Regions from separate parts of the Homo sapiens genome. Here region 2 is linked to region 1. Evidence: promoter capture Hi-C in 16 types of primary human blood cells and fetal thymus (Javierre and others, 2016). All regions are on one chromosome and are shown on one strand. Each heading gives the region's core, a stretch centred on a gene start or on the middle of the fragment in contact. The rest is flanking DNA. Distances are from core to core; before and after follow the strand shown. Region 1 holds the start of BMS1 (BMS1 ribosome biogenesis factor). Region 2 has its middle 77 kb from the start of ZNF33B.

The links. Contacts are between HindIII fragments. The CHiCAGO score rates a contact against its expected background, and 5 or more counts as called.
Region 2: a contact is called between a fragment that was not itself captured here and the fragment with the promoter of BMS1 in region 1, in 2 of 17 cell types (total B cells and total CD4 T cells). The highest score is 5.7, in total B cells.

What each region holds. Positions count from the first base shown.
Region 1 is chr10:42,780,941-42,784,896 of GRCh38, reverse strand. It overlaps BMS1 (BMS1 ribosome biogenesis factor), which reads right to left and starts at 2,102. Exons shown (of 23, transcript NM_014753.4): 1 at 2,067-2,102; 2 at 327-535. The coding sequence starts at 502. RefSeq lists an enhancer at 1,922-2,271. The HindIII fragment of the contact is 6,696 bases long and covers 375-3,956 here.
Region 2 is chr10:42,559,644-42,563,599 of GRCh38, reverse strand. No RefSeq gene overlaps it. Among named protein-coding and RNA genes, the nearest start is that of ZNF33B, 77 kb to the left of the region's middle. The HindIII fragment of the contact is 5,567 bases long and covers 1-3,956 here.

The DNA of each region.
Region 1 (3,956 bases), core at 853-3,352:
TTTGTATTTTATATTACAACTATGTAAAACATACCTGGGGGGAAAAAGCACACTTATCACCATAGAAACAGTTTAAAATTTAGGAACAAACAAAGTCTATAAATTCTTGTATCCTGGGCAATAAACACTAACCAGTATGCAGATGCTGGAGGCAAGGCAGCTTCTATGGGAAAAGCTTCTCACGTTTTAGTGAAAGCCACACACCATGAATCTCCATGTCCTTTGGAGCTGGACTAGACTCGTGAATCCAAATGTCACCTGTGAGAGGCTCCTACTATTTAAAAAAAGAATCAATGGAAGAATGACCAGACCGTAGCCTAACATACCTGTGAAAGGATCGAGCCATCCGCACAGCAGACTGAACTGCAAAAGCTTTGGGATTTCTCTTCCGGGCATCTTCTTCGTCTCCTAGCTGGAGATCCTGCAGAAGCCGCTTCTTTTTCTTTGCAGCTTTGGGTCCACTGTTTTTCTTTCTGTGTTTCTTCTGGTCCTTAGCCTCCATAGTGGCTATTTACCAATAACAAGTAACTCTAACCTACAAGGAAGAAGGTTGGGGTAAGGAGATGGGAGAAGCATTTTACAATCCAGGCAATACCCAGGGAAAAACAGTAAATTTCATTTATTTCTTTATGAAGAGATGATGTATTTGTTCACTGAACAAGGGTAGAAACTGCTTAACCATCCCCAATTTCATTTCTCTCTGTTATGCTATAAATTAGATGAGTTACCTCTCTTAAGATTACATTTTATGGTTAAGTTACTTTTTATTCATCTTAAGTGTCAACATCAGCAGTATCTATTTCTGCAAGGATAGAAATATACTATATCTGTACTTTTCAGCCATTTAGCCATTAGCCACATGTGGTTACTTACAATATACTTAGGGAAACTGAAAAAATGAGTTTTTAATTAATTTCATTCTAACTCCAAATAGTCACATGTGGCTACCATACTGGACAGCTCAGACCCAGGTATCAACTGGACTGATGAAGTGGTTTCCTAACTTAAACTAAAACTTAAATTTTAATAAAAAAATGTGAAACGTTTTTATGAACCTCCAATATGATCGCAGTATTACTTTTAGTACCTGTTGACTCTGTAAAACTCCTAAATTACAACTTATCTACATACATTTGAAAAATAGAAATAGCTGTACGTGTGAGATAGGACTGGTTCTAGATGACACCTGGAGACCCCATGAACTTACAGAGACCCTTCCAGTGATTTCTGAGTTACCTGGGAATCTGTGGCTAATAAATTGGCAATCACTGAATTAGTGAGTTATTTTAGGAAATCGGGCTGCATAAAATCTGACAGCTTGATTAAAAAAAAAAAGCGGAGCAGGATGCCATTTCATTCAATTAAGGTACTGTATTCATTCCGTTGAATAAATATTTGTGTCTGTCTACGATGTGCTAGGCACTGTGCCAGTAAGTGGATACAGCTATTATCTGACTTGCAGAGGAAATCCAAACTATTATCTTCCGCGCCACGCAATAAGGGCGACATTGGAAGGCTGCACAGGGTGCTACTGGAGCACGGAGGTGAGTCAGAGGCTTCCCACAGACACACACCAGCGGAAACAAAGTCTTTATGTATTACCATAATGTCAAGAACACTGGCCAGGAGTTAGGAGAGCTGGGCGCTAGGAACGCTTTGAAACCGAATAGCTGTGTGATTTCAGAGATTATGTTTCTTCTCTGCTATATTTTAGTTCAGCACTTGTACTAATGTTTCTCTCCCTGTCTTTCTTCTTGGTGGGAAAAGCACAATTTGGGGTCAACAGATCCAGCTCAGGTCTAAGTCTCCTACCGGGACCACGTCGCCAGGAAACGACGTCGCCCAGCCACCTTCCCTCCCCGTCTGGGCTCTCTGCAGGGATTCATCACGTCACTCACCCAACTACCCCAGGACACCTCCGCCAGATGAGAAATATGCCGCTCCTCGGGAGCAAAGATGACCCGGAGGACCGGGGGAGGACCTTCCCACACGCACGACTCGCGATCTTCCCAGTGCCCCAGAACCAGGGACCCCACCGCCGCCTACCCCAACCCGCAGCACCGAACCTGCTCGCAGCCGCGACTCCTCAGGTCAGCATGGACACCGCCGGAAACGGAAATTCACAGTCGCGCTGACTCGCCGGAGGGAAACAAGAAGGCAGAAAAAAGAGACCGGCATGGGGACGGCTTTCAGGGGAGAGCCTGAAGAAAGAGGGCTGAACAGCTGAGTGCGGACGCAGGCGCCGTCCGCGCAGTGCGTTCCACCGGGTCCAGGTCCTTCCAGATTCCTCTCCACCCCGCCCTCGGAATCCGCGGCCTCAACTTCCGCGGTGGGACTCCGGAGCAGCGTGCGCCGCGCTCGCCTGAGTTCTCGCCGAAGGCCAGGGCGGCTCTGCGGCCTGGCGCCGGTTAGTTAGTGTGGTGCAAAAGCCGGAAGGAGACACATTTGGTCCTGGCCTCCCGGCAGTCACCGTGCCAAGGACGAATGGACTATCGCTTGATTTGGAGTACACTTCCTCCTCTTTAAAGATTACAGATGAGGGGGATCTCGCGTTCTGGGGTGCCCTAAAGCCCTCTTTTGGCAGGGCGCAGTGGCTCACGCCTGTAATCCCTACACTTTGGGAAGCCGAGGAGGGAGGATTGCTTGAGCCCAGGAATTCAAGACAAGCCTGGGCAACATAGGGAGCCTACCTCTCTCTCTTAAAAAAAAAAAAAAAAAAAATTAGCCGGCATCGTGCCGGGCGCCTGTGGTGCTTGTGGTCCCAGCTACTCTGGAGGCTGAGGTGGGAGGATCGCTTGATCCCAGGAGGCGGAGTCTGCAGTGAACTGAGATGAGCCACTGGACTTCAGCCTGGGCAACAGAGCAAGACACTGTCTCTAAGAAAAATAAATAACATAAGGCCCTCTTTTGCCAGGACCAACAAACCGTGAGGGCAGGGACAAACTGACCCAGCCTAAACTGCCTCGCCCTCCCTAAACCCGGGAAAGGGGCTTTACCTGAGTGAACGTAGCATCTTGCCGTTTTCTTACTGCACAGCTTTACCTTCCCAGGGATCCGCCCATTGCCACCTGAGGAAATGCCTTGGAGTCCATCTAATCCCCAGCCCAGCTACTTGGGAGCCTACAGAGCGTACATTGTCAGAGGATGCATCTTCCTTTAGTCTTGGAGGGTTTCTTTTCAATATGATCCCGCTGGTGCATTCAAGGCTCAATTCTACACCAAAAACTAGGCCCACTCCTGTCACGAGAACCCCAGGCGTCAGGTCTTCTCACAGGCACCTTGTTCTTGCCCTCAGCAGCCCCCAGGTATTCACTCTGCATATTCTAGATACTGGGTGCTGGACTTGGGAGGCTACCCACGTGGCACATGCTTCCCTTATCCCTGAAGAGCTTAGAGTGTTGTAACTTCTTCACACTACACCTCTTACTTCTTGAAGATTTCAGTATCCAGGTAGATAATCCTTCCAACATCCTTTTGGTCTCATGAAGCCCACTCCTGTCCTCTGCCCTACCTCAGCTTCCCCCTCCCTCCATGATCAGACCTTAGACCTTGTCAGGTCCAAGGACTGCAACCCCCACAGTATCCCACTCTGACCAGGTCTATCTATCCTCCTATCTGTCCAGGTCACTCCCTATACTGCCCTGAAACAAAACTCCTGCAACCTTACCAGCACCTCCAATCAAGATCTTACTACTTGTTCACTGTTTCTTCCTTTATGACCCTCTCTAGTGAGCCAGCTTAAACTCAATGGCCAACCATTCTCATTGATCCCTTGCACACCTCCTCAACTCATGCACCTCCCTGTCATCTCCTATCTGCTTGGTAAGATGGGAGCCCTGGATAAACCCAGCTCTCCATCTATTCCATGCCACGACGATGCAACTAAACATGGCTGGAGGAAAACAGGACCATGCCAGCCGTCCTCACTTTAATCATTCTTTGCCTGGTCTATTCAA
Region 2 (3,956 bases), core at 1,082-3,581, 220 kb after region 1:
AGTTACCCTGGGATTCCAGGTAGCAGAGCACTCTCAGGACATTCAGAGCTTTGACTTGGTGATCAAGGGCACCATAGGTGAGTGACCTGAGTGAACCAGGCAGATGCTCATGGCCTTTTTAAACATAACTTTGGAAGTTACACAGCATCACTTTCATGTCATGTGTCAGTGACAAGTGAGCACTAGTGTCCAGTCTGGTAAGGGTGGGCATAGACCCCCATATCTCAAAGGGAGAATAGCAAAAAAATTGCAAACATCTTTAAAAAGCCACATGGATATTCTAGTTTAAAACTACTCAGGTTTTTTTCTCTCCTGGGCTTCTCACCACAGCTCTGGGGTGATCTTAGGGCTTATGTTTCCTCCCCAACTTGGAGGCAGCAGAAAAAGGGACTTTGGTAGTGGTTGTGGCCAAGGGTCTTTTACTTATGTCCTGTTAGATCCACCCAAGAGTGATGCAGGTCAGCAATCGCCCAGTCTCACTTATAAGTGGGAGCTAAATAATGAGAACCCATGGACACAAAGGGGAACAGCAGACACTGGGCCTACATGAGGGTGGAGTAGGAGGAGGGAGAGGACCAGAAAAAATAATTATTGGGTACTAGGCCTAGTACCTGGGTGATGAAATAATCTGTACAACAAACCCCTGTGATACGAGTTTACCTACATAACAAACCTGCACATATCCCCCTGAACCTAAAATAAAAGGTTAAAAAAAAAGTTCTTGGTAGCTGAGATGCCTCTCAAATATGTGATAAAAGATTTGTTACTTTGTCACACAGGCCAGGGGTAAGGTAATTGTGGGTTTTACTTCTGCCTCAGTCCCTGTGAGTTGATTGACAAGTAAATGCAAATATTCAGGGAAACTTACTGAAGCGTTATGGGGCAATAAAAGCTAATGTCTGCCTTAAATGTTTCTCTATCAAGGAACCATTTAATTGACTCTGTTGAATTTAAAAATCACAAGATTTAGGCCAGGTGCGGTGGCTCACAGCTGTAATCCCAGCACTTTGGGAGGCAGAGACAGGTGGATCACCTGAAGTCAGGATTTTGAGACCAGCCTGGCCAACATGATGAAACCCCACCTCTACTAAAAATACAAAAATTAGCCAGGCATGGTGGCAGGTGCTTGTATTCCCAGCTACTCAGGAGACTGAGGCAAGAGAATCGCTTGAACCTGGGAGGCAGAAGTTGCAGTGACACAAGATCGTGCCATTGCATTCCAGCCTGGGTGACAAGAGTGAAACTCCATCTCAAAACAAAACAAAACAAAACAAAACAAAACAAAACAAAACAAAAACAATTCACAAGATTTAACTATTTGGAATGGAGAGGAGGCTTTATTTCTTATAAGGGGTTACAGCCTGCAACAGGCTGAGAAGAATGCCTCTGGCTAAGACCAGGGACTAGGGACAGGCACTTTGAAGGAATATAGGTTGGGGTAGGAGCATTATGCTGGACAAGTTAGCTAAACATACATCTTCAACAGGTTATAGGAGGAGCTATGAATATGCATGAAGGTGGTCCTGAGGCACATGTATTGAACCAACATGCATGTAATACATGACCCATGTTCACTTTGGGGTGGAGTCCTAACACTTGAATGTATTATAATTAGGCCCTATCAGTCAAAAGGTCTTTACAGGACACGAAGGCACTCAAGTGTGCAATCTCTGTAAAACCAGCCAGAACCAGTTCATGGTGGGTGGTCTTCTTATCAGGAGAAAGTTACTGAAATCAGTCTCTTGTCTAATCAAAGCTGTAGTTATGGTGCTTGGGACAGGAGTTGGGAGCCAATTAGTGTCTGGTGATGAGCTACAATTGTTTTTATTTTGCTTATGTCAAGGCCAGTGTTTATTTAGCTGCTAGAGAAAAAAGAAAAACCTTGTGGCAGTTAGACCATAGTTAATCTTTAAGTTTAGAGTGCTTGACCTAACCCTTGCCTGGCATGGCCTTAGGTCTTGTTTATAATTGATATCTCATTGCCACAAAAAGTCTGTTCTGCCAGTCTTATGATCTCTATTTTAACATTAATGCTGGTCAGTCGCTGTGTCTAAACCACAAACATGAGGGGGTATAATGAGACATGTCTGACCTCCCATCCCATCATGGCCAGGAACTCAATTGTAAGATTTTTCTGGGGTCCCCTTGGCTAAGGGGAGTGTCCTTCAGTTGGTGGGGGCTTAGGATTTCATTTTTAGTTTACAATTTCTGCAAAGGGAAAGGCTGCTGATAAACCTTAAACTTCCTGCACTTGTGTTTCAAAGCAATAAATCAGACCTCTTAAGTACTAATGGAGTTGTATACAATTTGTATGGTGGCCAGTTTCCCTTCTAGCCTGAAAGCCCTGTGAAGACAGAGTTCTTGGCTTTTTTATTCCTTAACAGTTTTCTTACTCCCAAATTAGCATGTAGCAGCAGGTACACAGATGAGAATCTCTTTCTTTGTTCCCCACAGTTTCTACCTTGAACAATTCTCCCTGCCAACATGCAGCATCATCCTGTAGCCTTATAGTTTCCCCAACATCTAATATATGTTCTTCCAGTAACTGGAGACTGAGATGCTGCAGGGCCAGACAGCTGTGTTCTTAGCCAAGTGACAAGCAAGGCTTTGTTGGGCTCTTTTTACATTATTCACCTTAGAGTCCAAGCTGAGCAACTCAAAACTATACACATGGGGCCAGAAAATCATCAGCCTCTGAGGGTCAGCTATATGATCTTACAAGAGCTCATTAGAGATGAAAAACTGCCTTGTAAATTCCAAAGCGTATCTCTAGCTCAAGATTGCCTCTCTTCATATTGTCTCCTTTTTTCCAGTGGCTCCAATAGACAAAAACTGTAGCAAAAATTGTTAATTTTGGGGACTTGTTCTGTTTCCAGTATTGAGAATTTAAATTCCAAGCTGCCCACTAGCTGCAAAAAGCAAGGAAGTTGTATCACCTTCACTTTCCGCTGCAGCTTTTCCTGATAAGTGTGTTCCCTCTAGAATTTATGAAATTGAAAGCATTTAACATTTTATATCAATTTTATCATATTAATACATCTAGATGTAATAGCCACAAAACACAAAGCCATTAAATTTTTTTTTCTGTTGCAAACTAAATCCATAGCAGTAAATCCAGCATTTGCAGTTAGGTTAGCATTACTGCTGTGGGAAAGATTCAGGTTGGAAAGCAGATGGGGGAGGGTACAGGGGGTGGTAAAGAAGGAGGCAGCTCTTGCAACAGGGCAGCAGCTGGGCTGAAGAAGAGGCTGGATGGAGTCTTGGTGCCCTCCCCACCCTCCCACCCTCCCACCCTCCCACCCCAGCTTTGCTCCAGCCCTGAGAACTTCTAACATTTTTGGGGCCACCTAACACTCACCTTTATAATTTGTCACTGTTGTTTTTTTACCCTCCCACCTGGAGAAGAGAATAAAAAACAAAGCCAATCCCCAGATGTATACTTTCCCCCTCACTTCATCCAGCACAGCTCAAAGAAGCCAGGGTTGGATCCATTTCTAACCCCAAAGGTCACTGTGGCTTCTAACAGCAGATGGCAGTTCAGCTGCTGCTCTCAAACCATGGAGGGCTCGATAGACACCAAGGCTTATCACCATTCCCCTTCATTCTTCCTTTTCCCAAACAGTGATGGAGCCAAATCTTAGTGAATCAGGACTGTTCTAGCAAATTCCACTTCTGGGCCAGGTGCAATGACTCACACCTGTAATCTCAGCACTTAGAGAGGCTGAGGCAGGAGGATCACTTAAGGCCAGGAGCTCAAGATAAACCTGGGCAACATAGCAGGACCCCATCTTTACAGAAAAAAAAAAAAAGAGCCCGGGATGGTGGCACGTGCTTGTAGTCCCAGCTATTCAGGAGGATACATACCTGTAGTCCCAGCTGAGGCAGGAGGATCACTTGTGCCCAGGAGCTCAAGGCTGCAGTGAGCTATGATTGTGCCACTGCACTCCAGCCTGGGT